4 separate regions of the Homo sapiens genome follow, and all the other regions are linked to region 3. The links are contacts of gene promoters, found by promoter capture Hi-C in blood cells and fetal thymus (Javierre and others, 2016). All regions are on one chromosome and are shown on one strand. Each heading gives the region's core, a stretch centred on a gene start or on the middle of the fragment in contact. The rest is flanking DNA. Distances are from core to core; before and after follow the strand shown. Region 1 holds the start of HTR3E (5-hydroxytryptamine receptor 3E). Region 2 overlaps ABCC5 (ATP binding cassette subfamily C member 5). Region 3 holds the start of CAMK2N2 (calcium/calmodulin dependent protein kinase II inhibitor 2). Region 4 overlaps HTR3C (5-hydroxytryptamine receptor 3C).

Evidence for each region. Contacts are between HindIII fragments. The CHiCAGO score rates a contact against its expected background, and 5 or more counts as called.
Region 1: the fragment with the promoter of HTR3E here is called in contact with the fragment with the promoter of CAMK2N2 in region 3 in 6 of 17 cell types (M1 macrophages, M0 macrophages, endothelial precursors and 3 more); the score reaches 15.6 in M1 macrophages.
Region 2: a fragment that was not itself captured here is called in contact with the fragment with the promoter of CAMK2N2 in region 3 in 1 of 17 cell types (endothelial precursors); the score reaches 5.9 in endothelial precursors.
Region 4: a contact is called between a fragment that was not itself captured here and the fragment with the promoter of CAMK2N2 in region 3, in 1 of 17 cell types (M1 macrophages). The highest score is 5.3, in M1 macrophages.

What each region holds. Positions count from the first base shown.
Region 1 is chr3:184,094,014-184,099,267 of GRCh38, reverse strand. It overlaps HTR3E (5-hydroxytryptamine receptor 3E), which reads right to left and starts at 2,204. Exons shown (of 9, transcript NM_001256613.2): 1 at 1,672-2,204. The coding sequence starts at 1,738. It overlaps HTR3E-AS1 (HTR3E antisense RNA 1), which reads left to right. Exons shown (of 3, transcript NR_133658.1): 3 at 3,918-4,150. The HindIII fragment of the contact is 4,461 bases long and covers 1-2,477 here.
Region 2 is chr3:184,008,983-184,014,017 of GRCh38, reverse strand. All of the region lies in intron 2 of ABCC5 (ATP binding cassette subfamily C member 5), which reads left to right. It overlaps ABCC5-AS1 (ABCC5 antisense RNA 1), which reads right to left. Exons shown (of 3, transcript NR_046570.1): 2 at 3,377-3,567; 3 at 2,599-2,752. It overlaps LOC124909468 (a long non-coding RNA gene), which reads left to right and starts at 4,067. Exons shown (of 2, transcript XR_007096191.1): 1 at 4,067-4,193; 2 at 4,454-5,035. RefSeq lists an enhancer at 2,413-3,612. The HindIII fragment of the contact is 2,056 bases long and covers 395-2,450 here.
Region 3 is chr3:184,259,961-184,265,466 of GRCh38, reverse strand. CAMK2N2 (calcium/calmodulin dependent protein kinase II inhibitor 2) reads left to right here and starts at 3,914. Exons shown (of 2, transcript NM_033259.3): 1 at 3,914-4,350; 2 at 5,240-5,506. The coding sequence starts at 4,182. The coding sequence ends at 5,310. All of the region lies in intron 2 of EEF1AKMT4-ECE2 (EEF1AKMT4-ECE2 readthrough), which reads right to left. RefSeq lists enhancers at 2,060-2,822, 4,708-5,259, 5,260-5,506. The HindIII fragment of the contact is 12,942 bases long and covers 360-5,506 here.
Region 4 is chr3:184,055,214-184,060,912 of GRCh38, reverse strand. HTR3C (5-hydroxytryptamine receptor 3C) reads right to left here. Exons shown (of 9, transcript NM_130770.3): 3 at 5,557-5,601; 4 at 4,627-4,736; 5 at 3,869-4,038; 6 at 2,326-2,486; 7 at 1,273-1,477; 8 at 870-1,085; 9 at 240-763. The coding sequence ends at 561. Among named protein-coding and RNA genes, the nearest start is that of HTR3C, 5.0 kb to the right of the region's middle. The HindIII fragment of the contact is 2,967 bases long and covers 1-2,820 here.

The DNA of each region.
Region 1 (5,254 bases), core at 955-3,454, 160 kb after region 3:
CCCACCACACTTGGCTAATTTTTTTAAAAAATTTTTGTAGAGACGGGGATCTCACTATATTGCCCAGGCTGGTCTCAAACCCCGGGGCTCAAGTGATTCTCCCACCTGGGCCTCCCAAAGTTCTGGAATTATAGGTGTGAGCCACCATTCCTAGCCACATAGCTATTTTTAGAAGTGTGGGTGGGATTTTTTTTTAATTTCTTTTTTAAATTTTTAAATTTTTTTTAGAGGGAGTCTCACTCTGTCACCCAGGCTGGAGTGCAGTGGTGCGATCTTGACTCACTGCAATCTCTGGCTCCCAGGTTCAACCGATTCTTCTGCCTCAGCCTCCCAAGTAACTGGGATTACAGGCACTACCACCACATCAGGCTAGTTTTTGTATTTTTAGTAGAGATGGGGTTTCACCATGTTAGCCAGGCTGGTCTTGAACTCTTGACCTCAGGTGATCCGCCTGCCTCAGCGTCCCAAGTGCTGGGATTACAGGTGTGAGCCACCTCACCTGACCCGTCCCACCCTCTTCTAACTAATAAATTTTTAAATTTTCTAGTCATGAAAATGTGTTGGAGGAGCAACAACTTGGACTGAGAGAGATGGTTGATAACCTCTGTGCCAAGGACATTGAGCCTTATCCATTCCCAACGTCACAGTGCTTTCCAGCAAATTCTTAAACCACTCTAAGAACAGTGAATATTCATTTGTCAACCCCTGTGTGCAAGTGCCCAGAGGAGCTTTCATAACCATTTACACTGCCTAGACCAGGTGTACAATTTGTGTCTCTTCCCTGTGCTGGCCTTTAAAGTCACCTCTGGTTCAGTCCTCTCCTGTGCCTCCTTATCCAAAGTCATGGAATAATCTAACGAGGAGAGATGACAGTTATTGGCACTTTTACCAAGTGCCAGACACTGTGCTTCCCTCCTTCTCTTACTGAATCCTCACAACCCTGCAAGGTAGGTTCTGTTTTACAGATGAGGAAACCAGAGCTCAGATAAGTTAAGCAGTGCATCCAAGTTTATAAAACTAGCAACGTGAGACACCAAGATTCAAACCCAGGTCCACCTGTCTCCAAATCCCATGTTCTTGTCTCTCTACCATGCTGACCCCCTGGAAGAGAAGCACATTCTACTTTCACCCTTGACCTGCTGCCTTCTGGCACCTTACCTAACCTAGAGCCCTTGGATCCAGCAGATGGACAGGGAAATTATGGCTAAAGGAGGTGGGCACTTTGCTACAATGGTTTGGGTTTCATACCTGTAGAGAGAAAGAATTACACCTGTGGATAGAAAGATGGATGGATATAGAAGCTAAATACAAGAGAAGACGATCGTGGATGGTTGTCTTCCATGTAGGGTACCAATGGAGAAAAGACAGACTTTTCAAGTAGTATTGGGAAAACTGGATATCCATATGTGAAAGGATAAAGTTTGCTGGTGTTGAACTCTATTTTTCGAGAAGGAAAATGAAAGTGCTCTTGTTTGGCATGTAACTGGAAGGGGATTTTCCGTCTTTCAGAAAAGGAAAGTCTATGTGGGCATCTTAGTAATGTAGCTATGAAAGAACTCTATCCATCTTAGACAATCTCTAGGAGTTGGAAATTTGAAAAAAGTTCCTAGATGTTCTACTAGAGAGAGGTCCTCCTTCTTCCGCCTTCCCCCATCATTGCTCCTTTCTTACCTTGAAGCAGAAAACCGAGAAGGAGGTAGAAGGAAAATCTTTTCCTGTGGAACCAGCTTCCTTCCATCTTCTTTGTCTAAGTTCTTCTCTGAACATGTACTGGGACCCAGGAATGCCCAGATTAAAGCAGCACAGGCCACACCTAGAGTCTGACTTTGAATACTAATAGCATTGGTTGACCACTGACATTTGTAACCTTCCTTCAAAGAGTGTTCTGGTTGTCTTGTTCTTGCCTATGCTTAAGGTTCAGTCTGCTTTTAAGACTTTATCTTAGTCTTAGGTATTTCACTGCAACGTAAATGGTTATAGATAGTTCATACGTGATCAACTTGCAGATCTTGGTGAGATCCCTTGGTCTGAAGACTCATCTCTTCAATTTTGGAAAATTCTCAGACATTTATAAATGTTTCACTTCCTCTATTTTTCTTATTAGACATGTGTTGAATGGTTTCCTTCTATCTTACATGCCTTTTATTGCTGTTGTAACAAATCACAAACCCAGTGGCTTAAATAAACACAATTTGTTATTTTACTGTTCTGTGGGCCAGAAGTTTGAAATGGGTCTCACTGGGCTAAAATGAATGTGTCAGCAGGACCGCATTCCCTCTGGAGGCTCTAGAGGAGAATCCATTTCCTTGCCTTTTCCAGATTTTTTTTTTTTTGAGACAGGGTTTCACTCTGTTGACCAGGCTGGAGTGCAGTGGCGCAATCGCGACTCACTGCAGCCTTGACCTCCTGGGCTCAAGGGATCTTTCCGTCTCAGCCTCCCAAGTAGCTGGGACCTCACAGGTGTGAGCCACCAAGCTTGGCTATTTTTTTTTTTTTTAGTAGAAATGAGGTCTCGCTTTGTTGCCTAGGCTTGTCTCCAACTCCTGGCCTCAAGTGATCCTCCAACCTTGATCTCCCAAAGTGCTGGGATTATAGACATGAGCCATTGTACCCGGCCTTTTCCAGCTTTTAAACTGCCTGTATTTCTTGGTTCATTATTTTTACTTCTCCATCTTCAAAACCAGCAACATCAGGCCAATGTTTCTCACAAGGCATCTCATCTCTCTGGTTCTTATTTGTTTCTCTCTCCTTCTTCCACTTATAAGAGCCTTTGTGATTGCATTGTGTCCATTTGGATAATCCAGGATAGTCTCCCCATCTCAAAGTCCGATAATTAACAACCTTAATTCCATCTGCAACCTTAACTCCCCTTTTCCATATAACCTAAGGTTCCAGAGATTAGGATGTGGACAAATTCTGGGGGCCGTTATTCTGCCTAGCACACCTCTCTTTCCTATTTTCTACCTCTTTATCTCTGTCCCTAATGATTTCTTCAGATCTAGCTTCCAGGAAAAAAATTCTCTCCTCAACTGTGTTTATTTTAATTAATTAATTAATTAATTTTTGATGAAACTCAGTAATTTTTATTGCAACTGGAAGACAATACATTGCAGAAACTTTATGGTAGGTCTGGGGAAAAGTGTTATTTACAATAGATTATGACATAATTTGTCTTTGACAATATGATTACATACGAAGAATGCAAAATGCAAGTATGGATGCCTTCCATATTTTATTTTATTTTGAGATGGAGTCTCATTCTGTTGCCCAGGCTAGAGTGCAGTGGCGTGATCTTGGCTCACTACAGCCTCCACCTCCTTGATTTGAGCGATTCTCCTGTCTCAGCCTCCTGAGTAGTTGGGACTACAGGCTTGTGCCACCACACCCAGCTAATTTTTGTATTTTTATTAGAGACAGGGTTTCACCATGTTGTCCAGGCTGGTCTTGAACTCCTCACCTCAGCTGATCTGCCCACCTCGGCCTTCCAAAGTGCTGGGATTACAGGAGTGAGCCACTGTGCTTGACCCTCAACTGTGTCTAATCTGTCCATCTAATCTGCCCACTGAGTTTTGGTTTTGTTTTTTTGTTTTTTTGTTTTTTAGAGAGAGGGTTTCACTGTCTCCCACCATGCCTGGCCCTCAACTGTGAGCCACCATGCTGGGATTACAGACGTGAGCCACCGTGCCCGGCCCTCAGCTGTGTCTAATCTGTCCACTGAGTTTTGCTTTTTGTTTTGTTTTGTTTTTTTTAGAGACAGGGTCTCACTGTCTCCCAGGCTGGAGTACAGTGGTATGATCATAGCTCACTGTAGCCTTGAACTCCAGGGCTCAAGCAATCCTGCCACCTCAGCCTCCCAAGTAGCTGGGACTACAGGTGCATGCCACCATGTGTGGCTAATTTTTTTTTATTGTTTCTAGAGACAGGGCCTTGCTATGCTGCCCAGGCTGGTGTTGAACTCCTGGCCTCAAGCAATCCTCCTGCCTCAGCCTCCCAAATCACTGGAATTTACAGGTATGAACCACTATGGCTAACCTTTTACCCATTTTTAAATCAAGTTGTTTTTTGTTGTTGAGTTTCAGGAATTCTATGTATAGTTTGGATATTAATCCCTTATCAGCTATATAATTTGCAAATGTTTTCTCCCATTTTGTGGGTTGTCTTCTTTCCTCTGTTAATAGTGTCTTTTGATTCATAGATGTTTAATATTTTCATGAAGTACTATTTGTCTATTTTTTCTTTTGTTGCCTATGCCTTTGTGTCATATCCAAGAAATCACTGCTAACTCCAATGTTTTGAAGCTTTTTCCCTATGTGTTCTTTTAGGAGTTTTATTGTTTTAGGTCTACACTTAAATCTTCTTTTTTTTTTTTGAGACGGAGTTTCACTCTTGTTGCTCAGGCTGAGTGCAATGGCATGATCTCAGCTCACTGCAACCTCCACCTCCTGGGTTCAAGTGATTCTCCTGCCTTAGCCTCTCAAGTAGCTGGGATTACAGGCATGTGCCACTACCCCCAGCTAATTCTGTATTTTTAGTAGAGACGGGGTTTCTCCATGTTGGTCAGGCTGGACTCGAACTCCCCACCTCAGGTGATCTGCCCGCCTCAGCCTCCCAAAGTGCTGGGATTACAGGAGTGAGCCACCGCGTCCAGCCCTACATGTAAAATATTTTATCCATTTTGAGTTAATTTTGGTATATGGTTTTAGGTAAGGGTCAAACTTCATTTCTTTGCATATGGATATCCAGTTTTCCCAATACTACTACTTGAAAAGTCTGTCTTTTCCCCATTGGAACTCTTGCAAAAATAATTTGGCCATTTGTGTGACGGTTTATTTCTGGGTTCTCTATTCTATTCCATTGCTATACATGTCTGTCTCTTTTTTTTTTTTTTTTTTTGAGACGTAGTTTCACTCTTGTTGCCCAGGCTGGAGAGAAATGGCACGATCTCCACTCACCACAAGCTCCGCCTCCCAGGTTCAAGCAATTCTCCTGCCTCAGCCTCCCGAGTAGCTGGGATTACAGGCATGCTCCACCATGCCTGGATAATTTTTTGTATTTTTAGTAGAGATGGGGTTTCTCCATGTTGGTCAGGCTGGCCTTGAACTCCCAACCTCAGGTGATCCGTCTGCCTCAGCCTCCTGTGTAGCGGTGATTACAGGTGTGAGCCACTGTGCCCAGCCTTTTTTTTTTTATTATTTGAGACAGAGTCTCACTCTGTCGCCCAGGCTGGAGTGCAATGGCACAATCTTGGCTCACT
Region 2 (5,035 bases), core at 173-2,672, 250 kb after region 3:
GCCTATAATCCCAGATACTTGCGAGGCTGAGGCACGAGAATCGCTTGAACCCAAGAGGCGGAGGTTGCAGTGAGCTGGGATCATGCCACTGCACTCCAGCCTGGGCGATAGAGCGAGACTCAGTCTCAAAAAAAAATGTGTTTTTCTTTATTGGCTTTAGGTTACTGTTAAGAATTTATGGTTATTGATAAGTCTCTGGTCCATAGTAAGCACTCAATAAGTGGAAGAGAGGCTGGCTGTCACCCTCTCACCCGGTCTGTTCTGAGCATTCTCCTCTTTTTCACTTTTATTCTATGTTGGTGCCTTCTGAAAAGGCTATACTTAACAGAAGACAACTTATTGAGGGGGAGGGGGTCATGGGGTCAATGACAGGGAATATAAAGCCAATTAAGCTTCATTCATGTACCTAAACAAAATTGGTGTTTTCTTCTACTTTCTGTCATGTGTGTTTAAAATGTGAACCTGGCCAGGCACAGTGGCTCATGCTTGTAATCCCAGCACTTTGGGAGGTTGAGGTGGGTGGGTCACTTGAGGTCAGGAGTTTGAGACCAGCCTGGCCAACACGGTGAAACCCTGTCTCTGCTAAAAATACAAAAATTAGTGAGGTGTGGTGGTGGGCACCTGTACTCCCAGCTACTCAGGAGGGAGGCAGGAGAATTGCTTGAATCCAGGAGGCAGAGGTTGCAGTGAGCCAAGATCACGCCACTGCACTCCAGCCTGGGCAACAGAGTGAGACTCCGTCTCCAAAAAAATAAAAAATAAAATAAAATGTGAATCCTTTGGAGAGACTCAGATTTCAGAACAATTCTAGATAGTTGTGGGATTATCAGTATGTTTTTCAAGCGAATTCATAAGTTAAGCAGTCTTTAGATAATAATCTAATTTCCTCCAAGGGAAATAATGAAGATGCGTTTTTACCTCGAGAAAATATTCTTTTTCCTGAGGAAAAAAAGCATTATACCTTTTCTTACAAAAGTACCTAATAAGGCAGAATGGACTAGGTTTAGGAAGTTGAGGTTTTTGTTGGTGTATTTGTTATGTGAAAATTTGAGAAAGATAATGGACTTTGCAGCTGACACTGGCCTTTCCTTAGCCTGATACTACCTTTCCCTCTTTGGTTGTGTTAAAGCCATTGCTTTATTAATGAACATTTTCTTGCTAATGAGTCTTTTCTGTACCCTACTGTGTATTATAGAATGCTTTTCCATTCAGGTTTAACTTCAGAGAAACAGGCTTAATGTAATCAGTGTCAAATGCTTCTCGTGGTGCCAGTTTTATAACTTCCTCATGTCCTTTTGTCTAGACCTTATGTTGATTAAACATCTATCCATTACATCTGAGTGCTAGACACATTTAGTGTAACAGTTAAGTCTGGAAAAAGTCAGAAGGTAACATTGGGGCAGGGCCTTAAAGGGTGATTAGGTGGGGAGGCTTTTTAGGCGGTACAAGTACAGACCCAAAGGTATGGAAAGAGCGTGTGACATATTGGGACTTTGGATAAGCTACTTACGTCATTTGTATATAAAATGGGGTTGACAGTAGTACCTGACTCATGGGATCACTGAGGAGTAAATGAGATAATACATATAAAATATTTAAAATGGTACCTGGCACATGGCCAGTGCTCAATAAATGTTAGCTCTTAGAACTAGTTGTTCAGGGCATAGGATGTGTAAAGAGATTATAGGTCGGGTGAAATTCTGCATGCCATGCTAAGAAATATTTCACTGTGGGCATTAGGGAACTATTGGAAGTTAATGAGATTAAAAAAAAAAACCTTTTTATTTTGAGCTAACTGTAGATTTACATGCAATTATAAAAAATAATATAGAGATCCTATATATTCTTCATCCAGTTTCCCCCAGTGGTAACATCTTGCATAACTATAGTCCAGTATCACAACAGGATAATGATTGACATTGATACAATCCATTGACTTTAGGATTTCACCAGTTTTATATGCACTCATTTGTGTGTGTGTGTGTGTGTGTGTGTGTGTGTGTTGTGTTCTATGCATTTTTTAAAGGTGTAAATTTGTGTGACCGCTTCCACAGTCAGGATGCAAAGGTTCCATCACAAGGATCTCTCGTTACCCTTTTATAGCCACAGTCATGTCCCCTCAACCCCAGTCTCTGGCAACTGCTAATCTTTTCTCCATTTCTGTAATTTTGTCATTTTAAGAATGCTATATACATTGAATCATATAGTATATAACCTTTCGAGATTGCTTTTTTCACTCAGCTGAACTCCCTTGATAGCCATCTAATTTTGTTGTGTGCATCAATAGTTCTTTCCTTTGTATTGCTGAGTAGCATTCCGTGTTATAGATGTACCATAGCTTCTTTAACCATTCATTTGTTAAAGGACATATGGGTCATTTCCAGTTAATGGCAATTATACATAAAGGTGCTCTGAACCTTCAGTTACAGGATTTTGTGTGAACATAAGCTTTTATTTCTCTGGATTAATGCCCAGGACTGCGCTTGCTGGGTCATATGGTAAGTGCATATTTAGTTTGTAAGAAACTGCAGTACTCTTTCCCAGAGTGTCTGTGCCATTTTACATTCCCACCAGCAATGATCCAGTTTTTCCACATTGTTGCCAGTACTCAATGTTATAATGTTTATTTTAGCCATTCCTATAGATGTGCCTGGTATCTGATTGTGGTTTTAATTTGCAGTTCCCTAATGGCTACGATGTTTGAGAGTAGATTTTTATCTTAGATTAGTCTTGAAGCAATGCAGAAAAAAACCTGTACAGGAGAAAGAGACCAAATATAAAGAGCATTCAGGAAGCGGCTCTGCCTATCCATGTCAGAGAGGCCAGGGTTCTGTTGTAAAGCACAGAAGTGAGGATGGAGGAAAGGCGTTTCTAGAAGATAGGGAGGCATTGGGGTGTCTGGGATTGATGGTAAGGATTTAAACCTATTCGTGGACATAAGAAAAGGAGATTGGGGAGATATTAAGAATGAGTTTGGGCCGGGCACGGTGGCTCACGCCCGTAATCCTAGCACTTTGGGAGGCCGAGGCTGGTGGATTGCCTGAGCTCAGGAGTTTGAGACCAGCCTGGGCAACACAGTGAAACCCCATCTACTTGGGAGGTTGAGGCAGGAGAATCGCTTGAACCTGAGAGGCGGAAGTTGCAGTGAACCAAGATCGCGCCATTGCACTCCAGCCTGGGCAACAGAGTGAGACTCCATCTCCAAAAAAAAAAAAAAAAGAAGAAGAATGATTTTGATTTTGAAGATGTTGAATTTGAAGTGCATATGGGTAAAATTATCAGTAGGTAGAGCATAGACAAGAAGTAGTGTAGGAAAAAACATTTAGAGCCTTTAGTGTGTCCACATAGGTGAAGCTGTGAGAGTGAGCAGGCTTACCCAAGGATGGCTTGCAGAGCAGGAGAAGGTGGAGGCTGTGGAGCTGGTGTGTGGTCCTGTGAAATTTCTGGGGATAGGGTCCCCAGCTTGTGAGAGTAGAGTTGACATCAGGGTTTGCAGTGGCAGCAGCGAGCTTTTCCTCTACGAAGTGGAGAAGAACAGCAGGTAGGCACCGCTGGGCTTTGAGTACCCTAAAGGATATGGAGTCAGCCACCACTGTAGCAGGTTTTCAACATGCCACTGAAGCCTTATCTCAGAGAAATATGAAGGCTAATACCACTTTTATAAAATTTCAGGAATCCACATGAATTTTATGAATTTTATTTTTATTATTCTTTCATGTTTCCTAAACTTTTTTTTTTTTTTTTTTTTTTTGAGACGAAGTCTCCTTCTGTCACCCAGGCTGGAGTGCAGTGGTGCAATCTCAGCTCACTGCAACCTCCACCTCCCGGGCTCAAGCAATTCTCCTGCCTCAGCCTCCTAAACAGCAGGTGCCTACCTGCTGTTCTCTGTTACCACATTGGCCAGGCTGGTCTTGAACTCCTGAGCTCAAGTGATCCGCCTGCCTTGGCCTCCCAAAGTACTGGGATTACAGGCGTCAGCCACCACATCTGGCCATGAACTTTTATTTTTTATTAAATTTTTTTTGTTTGTTTTTTTGTAGAGGCACTCTCACTGTTGGCCAGGCTGTTGTTGAACTCCCAGCTTCAAGCAAGCCTCCCGCCTCAGCCTCCCAAAGTGCTGGGATTACAGGCATGTGGCACCACACCCTGCCCCTAAACTTTGAAATTTGAGTACTGTTTTCCTGATTTTTACTGTATCCTTGTAATCTCTGAACTTTTTTAAAAGATTTCTTTTATTCTACTCTCTTTCTGTTACTTAGTCTAGACCTAGCAAAACAACAACAATAAGCCCATAGGTTTATTCAAGCTATTTTTGTATATACATTAAAATGAATGCATCGCTACTAAGTATTTTTGTAAGTTCAGACACCATCTAGAATCTGCTTGACCGTTACCTGTCAAAAAACAAAATTTCTCAGATGTATTTATCTTTAACTTGTCTTCATGTTACAAGTTTGCTGACAGAAGCAACCAGCAAGATGACAAGAAATTTTGTGGTCTGAGAAAATTGTATAAATGGTATAAAATGGATAATGTAAGTAGTTGGGAAGCAGAATTCCTGTATAAGCATATAGTTTTTCTTTTTTTAAAGTAAGCAGTTAATTGGGCAGAGATTGCAATTTCATGTCACATCATCATTACCATCATTTTTATATTTGTTAGAGAGGAAATCTGGGACAGGATCTCCCAGGATGCCAGGTATGCCTACTATCTGTCAAAAATTTAAAACAAACAACAAAAAAGCCTCTAAGTAACAAAAGATAAGGATACATCTATGGCTCTTATGTGGAAAGCAAGGTTTCATTCAGCACTATTAGCCTTTAACACGTGGAATTAACCGAGAAGCAGGAGACCTGTGCTGCTGGTGCCTCACGCCTGTAGTCCCAGCACTGTGGGAGGCCGAGGGAGGAGGCTCGCTTGAGCCTGGGAGTGCAAGACCAACCTGGGCATCATGGTGAGACCTGTCTCTACAAAAAAATAAAAATAAAAATAAATTAGCTGGGCACAGGGGTTTGTGCCTGTAGTCCCAGCTACT
Region 3 (5,506 bases), core at 2,665-5,164:
ATGAGCCACTGCACCTGGCCCTGGGTCACACTTTGAGGTTACAGGTGAACATTGAATTGTTGTGGGAGTCCCTATTCAATCCACTACAGGGGTCTACAGTTTCCACTTGACTAAAAGTGTCACTAATACTCAATTGTCAAAAGGCATGTTATCTGTGTAGAGCACGTGGACAAGTATACTAGGTTTGAGGGACTTCCAATTGAGAGACTCAATGCACTGTCACGCAACTCTATACAAGCTTTATTTCATTTTAGTGAAAATGTATTTTCCTCTCATGGGAAGGAAGCAGAATATCAGAATTTTAAAGAGAGGAGCAGAATTTAAAGAAATCCCCACATTTTTACAACATAGCTGAAGCTTATATATCATAATAGTCCACAGGTTTGTACTTAGGACTTTTGCTTTAACCATGATCCAGCAGGCACGGCCGGGACGGGAATATAATTATTTAAGAAGGAGGTAACCAAGTGAATTCTGGATTAAACTGTCATTTTTCCAATCTCCCTCATTGTGCAGAGAGAAAGGAGAATTGTTTCAATTCCTCACACAATACTCTTATCTCATCCTTGGCAAGAACCCTCATGCCTCTTCTTTGGCATTTTAGGTGAGGGGCAGCTCACTACCTCCCGAGACAACCCACTTTACCCCAGGACAGTTTCATCTACAAAACTGTCCTTTTCTTTCTTTTTTGAGTCAGGGTCTTGCTCTGTCACCCAGGCCAGAGTGCAGTGGCACCATTATGGCTCACTGCAGCCTCAAACTCCTGTGCCCAGGTGATCCTTCTACCACAGCCTTGCAAGTAGCTGGGACCACAGGTGTGTACCACCATACCCGGCTTGCTTATTTATTTACTTATTTATTTAGAGATGGGGCCTAGTTATGTTGTCCAGCCTGGTCTCCAACTCCTGGCTTCAAGCGATCCTTCTGCTTCAGCCTTCTGAGTGGCGGAATTCATAGGTGTGAGCCATGAATGTTGCCCAGCAAAACGTTCCTTAATAAGTAGGTTTTATCATCCCCATGCTTCAGACTAGAACATGGGGCTTACAGAGGTATCATATCATGCAGACACATGGTGAAAAGACTAGAAGGATATATATATATATATATAGTTATAAGGCCGGGTGTGGTAGCTCATGCCTATAATCCCAGCACTTTGGGAGGCCAAGGCGGGCGGATCGCGAGGTCAGGAGTTCAAGACCAGCCTGGCCAACATAGTGAAACCTCATCTCTACAAAAAATACAAAGACTGGCAGGGCGCAGTGGCTCACACCTGTAATCTCAATACTTTGGGAGGCCGAGTGGGCGGATCACGAGGTCAAGAGATTGAGACCATCCTGGCCAACATGGTGAAACCCTGTCTCTACTAAAAATACAAAAATTAGCTGGGAGTGGTGGCACACACTTGTAGTCCCAGCTACCCAGGAGGCTGAGGCATGAGAATCACTTGAACACAGGAGGGGGAGGTTGCAGTGAGCTGAGATGGCGCCATTGCACTCCAGCCTGGCGACAGAGTGAGACTCCATCTCAAAAAAAAAAAAAAAAAAAAAAAAAAAAAAAAGCTGGGCATGGTGGCGTGTGCCTGTAGTCCCAGCTACTCGGGAGGCTGAGGCAGGAGAATCGCTTGAACCTGGGAGGTAGAGGTTATGGTGAGCCAAGATCGCGCCATTGCACTCCAGCCTGGGCAACGGAGCAAGACTCCGTGTCAAAAAAAAAAAAAAAAAAAAAGATGTTATGTGATTTTCTTAATTTTCCTAAAATTTTTTTCCTTCCTTCCTTCCTTTCTCTCTCTCTCTCTCTCTCTCTCTCTCTCTCTCTCTCTCTCTCTCTCTTTCTTTTATTGAGACGGAGTCTCGCCTCGCTTTGTCACCCAGGCTGGAGTGCAATGGCCCAATGTCCGCCAACTGCCACCTTTGCCACCCTAGGTCAAGCGGTTCTTGTGCCTCAGCCTCCCAAGTAGCTGGGACTGCAGGTGTGTGCCACACCTGGCTAATTTTTTTTGTATTTTTAGTAGAGACAGGGTTTTGCCATGTTGATCAGGCTGGTCTCAAACTCCTGACCTCAGGTGATCCACCCACCTCGGCCTCCCAAAGTGCTGGTATTGCAGGCGTGAGCCACTGAGCCCGGCCTCCTAAAATGTTTTAAGTACAAACGAATTAATTTTTTAAAACCATGATTATGGGTCCTTCAGTTCAAGGTCACTGAGAAAGTGGGAGTCAGGATTGGAACCCATTACTGGACAACTTCCAGTGTATGTGGAATTTTCTGGACTCTCTTCCAGTGACCCCAGTCTTCCGCCTTTATTGTCCTTCCAGTTTCAGGGCTCCTCTCACTCCAGGCTGGGCCTCCACCTCCAGCTGTGGCCCTCATCCCGGAGACTAGGACAGAGCAGAGGAGGGCTTCATAGTGATGGGCCCCCAGGCCTGGGCCCTTGAGTGAGGCTGGCATCAAGGTATCCTGTGGCATACCGCCCCCCCCATCCAGTTCCCTGGGCAGCCACCATTGCGTTTGTCCCTGTGTCTCCGGTATTAACACCTGGCGAGAAAGTGTTGGAAGGAGACCCACTACAAGGCAGCCTCACCAGCTGTGTGATTTGGTAATTTGGCCAGATTAAGGAAGGAAAGCGCGTTCGCCTGGAGTGTGGAATGAACGTACAGGGTGATCATTACCGTTTTCAGCGCTGCCGTCACTGTCGCCGCATGTGAGACACCCCCTCCTCCCCAAGGCCAGTGATTGCGCCAGAGCTCCTGCGCGCTGGCAAGCAGGTGACGCCGCGGGTGACGGCCAGCCAGGGCGGGGGTTGTGGGGGCGGGAGGCAAGGGGAGAAGAGGGCATGTTCCCATCGGTGAGGCGAGAACTCACCCGTGGTCCAAAGCAACGAGGGCGGGGGGCACCCTCCATCTCTACCGCACTCCCTCGGGGCACACACTGGCGCGCTCCGCGTCCTCAGGTGCTCCGAGCTTCCCCGCGTCACCCGCAGCCCAGGGCGCCCCCCGCGACGCCGCCATTCATTCCTCCTACACTGCGAGCGCACCACTCCAGAGCCGCGGGGGGCTACAGCCACCGGACTAGGGCTGGGGGTGTCTGCCCTGGTGCGCGCGCGTCGGCCCAGTTTCTATAGACCCCTCCTAGGAGAGACTGAAATACCCAGATTCAGGAGACGGAGACACTGGCACAGAGATACAGGAGTCAAGAATGGAGATAGATAGAGAAAGGCAGACACTTAAGGGACAGGCATAGACAAAGGCCATAACACAGCGAAAGAGATACGGGGCACAGAGACAGAGAGATACAGACACTTAGAGATGGACTGACACACACAAAGGCGGAGACAGAGACACAGACCGGCACTCAGAGGCGCACGGACCCTGACGATCTACTTAAGACCAGCAGAGCAACTAGTACAAGAGCGCGTCAGCGGCAAGGGCACCATCCCACTGGCCCGAGCTCTTCCCGCGCTGTGGGTTCGTGCCTTCCCCAGTCACCCTGTACCCGAGTCTCCTCCCCGCGCATTTCCCGCTCCCCGCTTTCCATTGCCAGCCCTGCGGCCGCCTTCCCGCCCCAACGCGCCCGGCCAGCTTTTGCCCTCCTGCTCCCAGTCCCCCTTGCACGCCTCTCCCAGCCTAGGGGTCAGACCCTCCTCCAAGCTCCTCCAGTACCAGGCTCGATCCCACCCCCCTTCGGTCCCGCCCCTCCCCGCGAGGTCCCGGCCGGGTTGGCTGGTACTATTCCCCAAGACCCACGTGCTGGCCATTCCCCGCCACAGTGCGGGAACCTCCCACTCCAGCTGCCTCTGTTCCCGGGGTAGCTGGGCGCGCTCCTGCCCCCGGCCCCGCCTCTTTCCCCTGGCCAGTGCCCGCCCCGCCTCCACCGCGCCCCGCCCGCCGTGCTCTGCCGCAGTCGGGCGCTCATCGTCATTCCGCTCTTGCCGCCGCCGCCGCCACCCCCGCCCCCCGCCCCCGCCCCCGCCCGGTCCCCGCCACCGCCGCCGCCGCCGCCTGCCCAGCGGCCCGGGAGGCGGAGGCGCGGGGGAGGAGGCCCCGCTTGGCTCCTCAGCCCCGGATGCTGCATGACTTCATCCTTCCGCCGGCTCCCCTGCTGAGGTAGGGCCGGTCCGGCAGCAAGCCCGCCGCCCGCGCCCCGCCGCAGTCCCGCTCCCGCCCCGCGCCCACCCCGCGCCCGCCATGTCCGAGATCCTGCCCTACAGCGAAGACAAGATGGGCCGCTTCGGCGCAGACCCCGAGGGCTCCGACCTCTCCTTCAGCTGCCGCCTGCAGGACACCAACTCCTTCTTCGCGGGCAACCAGGCCAAGCGACCCCCCAAGCTGGGCCAGATCGGCCGAGCCAAGCGAGGTACGCGGCCCGGGCCCGGAGTCGCCGCCTGACCCAGAAACCCTCCGCCGGGCGCCCCCCGGCTGCCGTTCCCCGCCGAGTGCCCGCAGCTCTTGCCGCAGACCAGCGCACCAGCCGCTCTCCAGCCCGGGCTGGAGGGGGGGGTCCCCGCTGCAGTGTGTGTCCCCCTCTTCCCTTCTCCCGGGAACACGGTGCCCCGGATTCGATGCTCGCCACCTCTGGAAGCAGAGCCCTGGCACCCGGGCGAGGGGGAGGGGCCGGTCGGGGCATTTGGGGCTGCACGGAAGTGGGAGCACGGGGTAACGGGCTGATTCTTTGGGATCAAATACTGAGTCGGTGGACAATACGAAGAACCTTCGGGTCGAGAGGGACGTCTAACAAGAGAGGGCAGGAGGCCGGGGGTCCGCTTGTCTTGGTTGTTTGCATGGGGAGGGGAGCTCTGTTGGTGCCAGGATCGGAAGAGGGGTTCCAGCGGCGAGAGGGCTCAGGTTGAGGAGAGGGCTGGACCAGCTGGATACTCGGTTTGAGCCCCATTTGAGCAGGGGGATCTGTTGAAGTGCGGGTTGAAGAGGGGGATTCCGTGAGCAAGAGGTTTCTGATCAACTCAGAGGGAGGAAGGCTCAGGTGGCAGGAGGGCTCGCACTGGGAGGGAGAATAGCTGGAGCCTTTGGAAGAGGGGCGTTCCGCCATCGGGAGGGGAGGGGGTCTAGGCTTGGCGGCGGGTTGGGTCTCCAGAAGAGTTCGGACGGGGAGGACACCGCGGCACAGGGTTCCGAGGGGCGTCGCTGGGCCACGGGCAGTAGCTGCGCGGGAAGCTAGGACGCGGGGCTCATTCTCATCGCCGCCGCCCCCCGAGGCCGCGCGGCTGACGCGCTTTCTCCCTGCGCAGTGGTGATCGAGGATGACCGGATAGACGACGTGCTGAAGGGGATGGGGGAGAAGCCGCCGTCCGGAGTGTAGACGCGCCGGCTCGGGCGGCGGGCTCCGGGCCCAGCCTCGCAGCGGCCAGGAGCGCGGGCCGGCGATGCGGCTGCCGGCGCCCCCCCGCCCCGGCCCAGGCGCCCGCGGGCGGGGGCTGCAGGGCCGTGCCGCCGCCGCCGCCAGGCACTCCGGAGCTGTCCGCTTCAGCACCACGGCGGCCGCGGTAGCGGCGGCG
Region 4 (5,699 bases), core at 88-2,587, 200 kb after region 3:
CTGGCCAACATGGCAAAACCCTGTCTCTACTAAAAATACAAAAATTACCTGGGTGTGGTGGTGTGCACCTGTAATCCCAGCTACTTGGGAAGCTGAGGCATGAGAATCATGCCTGGGAGGCGGAGGTTGCAGTGAGCTGAGATGGCATCATTTGCACTCTAGTGTGGGTGACAGAGTGAGACTCTGTCTCAATAAACAAACAAACAAACAAACAAACAAACAAACTGAAGAGCCAGTGCTTCCTGGAAAGTTGTTTATTGGGGTGATCAATCAAGGAGAGACTCCACTGACCTGGACTTCCATTGATCAGGGAGTGAGGAGTTAGGTGGTAGCTCAGGGAGACTGAGGGTGAGCAGGAATGAGCAGCCTGAGCAGCGGTCGGGAAATCGTCCAGGGCTGTCCCGAACCTGCTTGCTAGTGCTGCGTTGGAGTCTTTGGAATTTAGAAGGGGACATGGTAGTCACTGGGGATAAGTGGCTAAGATTAGGAAAATGAGTCCGGCTGGCCCAAGACCAGCAGAAACTCCAAGCTGTTGTTTGCCAGAGAGGGGGGATGTCTGCCTAGGTGTTCCAGAGGACAATGACAGTAAGGATGGAGGAGGCCATGAAGAGCAGGTAGAGGCGGAAGAGCAGGGTGTCCATCGCGTGGCTGAACTGCACCCACAGCTCCATTAGCTGGGTCTTTGTCCATCCTGAGCCCCCATCTGGCTCGGTCTCTCTGGGTCCCAGCTTCTTCCCTGCTAACTCCCCCGGCTCCTTTGGGCCTGTGGAGAGGACAGAGGCTCAGTCATGGAGTGGGAAGGGGACAGGATTAGAGGAGTGCTGGGCCCAGTGTGAAGGGCGAGTATGGACAGTGCTGGCTTCCCTCACCAGGCAGGTGGGTGAGGGTGAGACCCAGGCCCTTATTTCCCTTCTGGGGCGCAGTGGGACAGCATCTCCCTGGGCTGGTGCAGTGGAGCAGCAGGGAGTGAAGCCACCTAGGCATGGGTGGGGGCTGGGTGGTGGCCACGTGCAGCAGGTAGGTAATGAAGACGGTCTCCAGCAGGCTGACCACCATCAGGGACAGGCACAGGGCGAAGTAGACACCTGAGGGCAGAGCAAATTATAAATAAACCAGGCAAATTTATCTCTAAGCATTCCTCACGCCTCTTTCCTAAATCCAATCTTCTTTCACAGCCCCTTCCTTCCTTCAGTGGAGCAGCGGCCATTTCTCCTGGCCCTCCTCCCTGGCCCCGGGTGCCCTTTCTCCTCCTGAAAGTGGGAGGAGCCATACTGATGAGGGGGGTGCCACTGGCAGGGAGCAAGTCATTCATCATGAGCAGGAAGACGTTGTAGCCCAGCAGAAGTGTTATCTTGAATGGGGCACGATTCTCGCTCTCTGCTGGCAGGTAGAAGCTGAGGGCATCAATGGCAACCAGAAAGCTACTGGGCACCAGCAGGTTTATGATGTAGAGGCTTGGCCTGCGCCTGATGGCCACCTGGAGAGAGACCGGAGAAGATGGCAAATAAATAGATGTCAGAGGGCTCAATTTGTATATCTGACCCCTAATCTTTGCCAATGTGCTGTGAGGCTGCTGGGGACGATCTTTTTAAGTAACACTTTTGCATATAATTGTGCTCGCCTACATAGGGGCCTCTGATTTGTTGTCTAATTTTTATTCATTTTTAACCTACTAGGAACACAATGACTGTAGAATTTTAGGTGCAAGTGGGCCCTTTAAGTCATTCTGAGCAGTAGGGGTGAGCTGATCCATTCTGAGCAGCAGGGCTTATTACAGTCCAGCCATTCCTGCCCTCTCCAGAGCAGGAGTGGGTGAATGAGGAGTGGGCAAATGGGGAGTGGGGGAGGCCTTGGGGATCCTGCTTCAGGGCAATTAGGTAGATGGGGCAGTGGGGAGCAGGTGCCCAACCCTCTGGAGCTTTATTTTTATTTTATTTTATTTTTTGAGACGGAGTCTTATTCTGTCTTGCCCAGGCTGCAGTGCAGTGGCATTATCTCAGCTCACTGCAGCCTCCGCCTCCTGGGTTCAAGTGATTCTCCTGTCTCAACCTCCCGAGTAGCTGGGACTACAGGCATGTGCCACCACACCCAGCTAATTTTTGTGTTTTTTAAATTAGAGACGGGGTTTCACCATGTTGGCCAGGCTGGTCCTGAACTCCTGACCTCATGATCCGCCTCCCTCGGCCTCCCAAAGTACTGGGATTACAGGTGTGAGCCACTGCACCCGGCCTGGAGCTTCTTTTTTGCTTCCCAAAGAGCCATAGGTCAAGAGGACAATCAAAGAGCTGCTGGGATCAGAAGTCAAACAGGGGCCCCTGGACTCACATAAAACATGATCTGGTCATATAGGTTGTTGCCCATGGACATCTTTGGGGTGGCCTTGTTGATGCCCAAGAGCTCCCACTCCCCCTGGGTTTGGATGACTTTGCGAGACGTGTCTGTGATCTCCCACACCTCCTTGTCCATGCCCAGCAGCATGCTGTCCACTGGAAGGGAGGCCGGTCAGTTCATTGCAGACGTTTTCCCAAGCCTCCCGCCCACGAAATTGGAGTCCTCCCCCACTGAGCTTCTAAACCAAATTTTCCTCTATCCTTTTAAAGCAAGGTATCCTGGTTTTCTCAGAAGTGGGTTACCCGACTAGCAATTCATATGTGTGTGGGCAGCGGCATTAATTTCTTTTGTTGTTGAAAACAAGAGTGAGTCAAGTTCGTTATGGGAATATTGGATATGACTGAAACGTGAGTCAAGAACTTTTGGAGTCATTCCTATTTTCCTTCTCAGTCCCCCAGTCGTATGGTGGTGTTTTAGTGGAATCAAGCTTGAATAGCTCAATATTTTAATAATTATAGGCATGCCCATTTTGATGGTTTTAGTTTATCCAAATCTGCCACATGACACCTGGTGGCATTCGGTTATATTAATTTACCGGTTTTTAAGTGTGTTAGCTATTAGAGTTAAAAGATTTGAGCTAAAAATTATAGGTGTGCAGCAGCTCAGAGTCAGCTGGGCCTCATTTGGCACAAGGGCCACTCAGCTTGTAAAGCAGCAGGTCGTAACCCCGTCTGCACGTTAGCATCACCTGGGCCCCACCTGGAACAATTTAATCGGCATCTGGGGTGATGTGCGCTTATTAGGCTTTTGTTTTTGTTTTTTGTTTTGTTTTGTTTTGTTTTGTTTTGAGACGGAGTCTCGCTCTGTCGCCCAGGCTGGAGTGCAGTGGTGCAGTCTCGGCTCACTGCAACCTCCACCTCCCGAGTTTCACGCCATTCTCCTGCCTCAGCTTCCCAAGTAGCTGGGACTACAGGCGCCCACCACCAGGCCAGGCTAATTTTTTGTATATTTAGTAGATATGAGGTTTCACTGTGTTAGCCAGGATGGTCTCGATCTCCTGACCTCGTGTTCTGCCCACCTCGGCCTCCCGAAGTGCTGGGATTACAGGCGTGAGCCACTGCGCCCTGCCTGTTTTTTGTTTTAAAAACAGAGTCTCACTGTGTCACCCAGGCTGGAATGCAGTGTGCAATCACAGCTCACTGCAGCCTCAGCCTCTCTGGCTCAAACAATCCTCCTGCCTCAGCCTCCCAAGTAGCTGGGGCTAATTCTTTTTATATTTTGTAGAGATGGGGGTCTCACTATGTTGCCCAAGCTGGTCTCAAACTCCTGGGCACAAGCGTTTGTCCCACCTTTGCCTCCCAAAGTGCTGAGATTACAGTGTGAACCACTGTGCCTGGCCAGTTATTGGTATTTTCAAAAAGCTTTGTTAGGCCACCGGAGTGGAGCAACACTGATCCAAAACCTTTTCTAATGATACCTACACCACTCAAATGTCTTCCCTGAATCTTAAACAGCTACCAAAATGTGTCACACTTACCTGTGTAGAGGAAAGAACTGAAGGTGAAGGTACAGTTCTGTTGGTCAAAAGGGAAGTAGAAGATGTCCAGGTTACAGATGCTGGTCACCCTCATTGGCTTATCATACTTAATTCGACCTTCACTGCTGATATAGGCAGTGAGACCGGAAGGCGTCTGATCCACATCCATGCTGTTTGGGGAAGGGAGGGAAGAGATGGAGGCTTAATCAGCTCTTGTCTCCCTTCCTTCTGGGGTCTCCCCTGCTGTGCTCTCCTTCTGGGCTCTTTCTCTTTCTATTTTTATTTTTTTGTTGTTTTTGAGACAGTTTCACTCTTGTAGCCCAGGCTGGAGTTCAGTGGTGCAATCTCAGCTCACTGCAACCTCCGCCTCCCAGGTTCAAGCAATTCTCCTGCCTCAGCCTCCCAAGTAGCTGGGATTTACAGGGATGTGCCACCACACCTGGCTAATTTTGTATTTTTAGTAGAGATGGGGGTTTCACCATGTTGGCCAGGCTGGTCTCGAACTTCTGACCTCAGGTGATCCACCTGCCTCGGCCTCCCAAAGTGCTGGGATTACAGGCGTGAGCCACCGCGCCTGGCCCTGGGCTCTTTCTTTAATGTCACTCTCTCGCCTCTTCTACTCGTAGTGATGTGTGGAAGTCAGTTCGTTGAGACTGTGTGCCTGTCTGAATCTTTCGGTGGCCCCATGCCCTGTGCTGACCCTAGGCTGTTCTCGGCAGATGAGGTTTCACGCTGGCTTCCCCAGCCTGCATACGCACGATTCCACGATGAAGATGTCTGGGAGCCACAGGTTTTCAGCTAATACTGTGAGTTTATTGATGCCAACACACTCTTTTGGGTTCCAATTAATGAAAGGATTGTCCCATACCTGCATCAGGGCAGTGAGGGACAGAGGTGAGTGACGGTGAGCTTGTCCTGTCGGCCTCTCCCACCCTTTCCATTCTTCTTTAAACCTTGATCCTCCCACTCCCATTTGTGACCCTAATAACCACAGCCTATCCCCCCATTCTTGATTTAACAAGGTGTCACCAGAAAAGTACCCCTTGATAGCCTTTTGGCAGGCAGATATTAAATATGGCCTAAAACCACTTGGAGTTAGGACCACACCAATATATTGGCCTGCACTTGGCCTTTTTTTTTTTTTTTTTTTTTTTTTTTTTGAGTTGCTATTTCAACCTTCCTAAGATTCCCAGGGAGGTTTGGGTCCCCATGGTGAGTCCAGTTCTACATGGAGTTATTTTTTCCCAGATCCCAGAAAAAGTTATACTTTGGGTAGAGGTTTGAACTAGAAAACTTTTAAGTCACTTTTTCTGTGTGTGTGTGTGTGTGTGTGATGGAGTTTCGTTCTTGTCATCTAGGATGGGGTGCAGTGGCACAATCTTGGCTCTCTGCAACCTCTGCCTCCCCGGTTCAAGCAATTTTCCTGCCTCAGCCTCCCGAATAGCTGGGATTACAGGCACCTGCCACCATGCCCAGCTAATTTTTGTATTTTTATTAGAGATGGGGTTTCACCATGTTGGCCAGGCTGGTCTCGAACTCCTGACCTCAGGTGATCCACCTGCCTTGGCCTCCCAAAGTGCTGGGATTACAGGCGTGAGCCACTGCTTCTGGCCCCTTTAAGTCACTTCTAACTCCTCAGGCTTAAAATTATAAATGAAGTGGGGAGGAGATAGTTGAATCTGCCTTACCAAATCCATCCACAGGAATGATGTCAGCAGCTGGAGCTGTGCATCCTGACAAGGAAATTTCCACTCAGGATTATTAGTGTTAAAAGGTTTGGCCAATGCCCACCTCATATTCCCACCAATATTTACTAATTTATTGGGCCAGG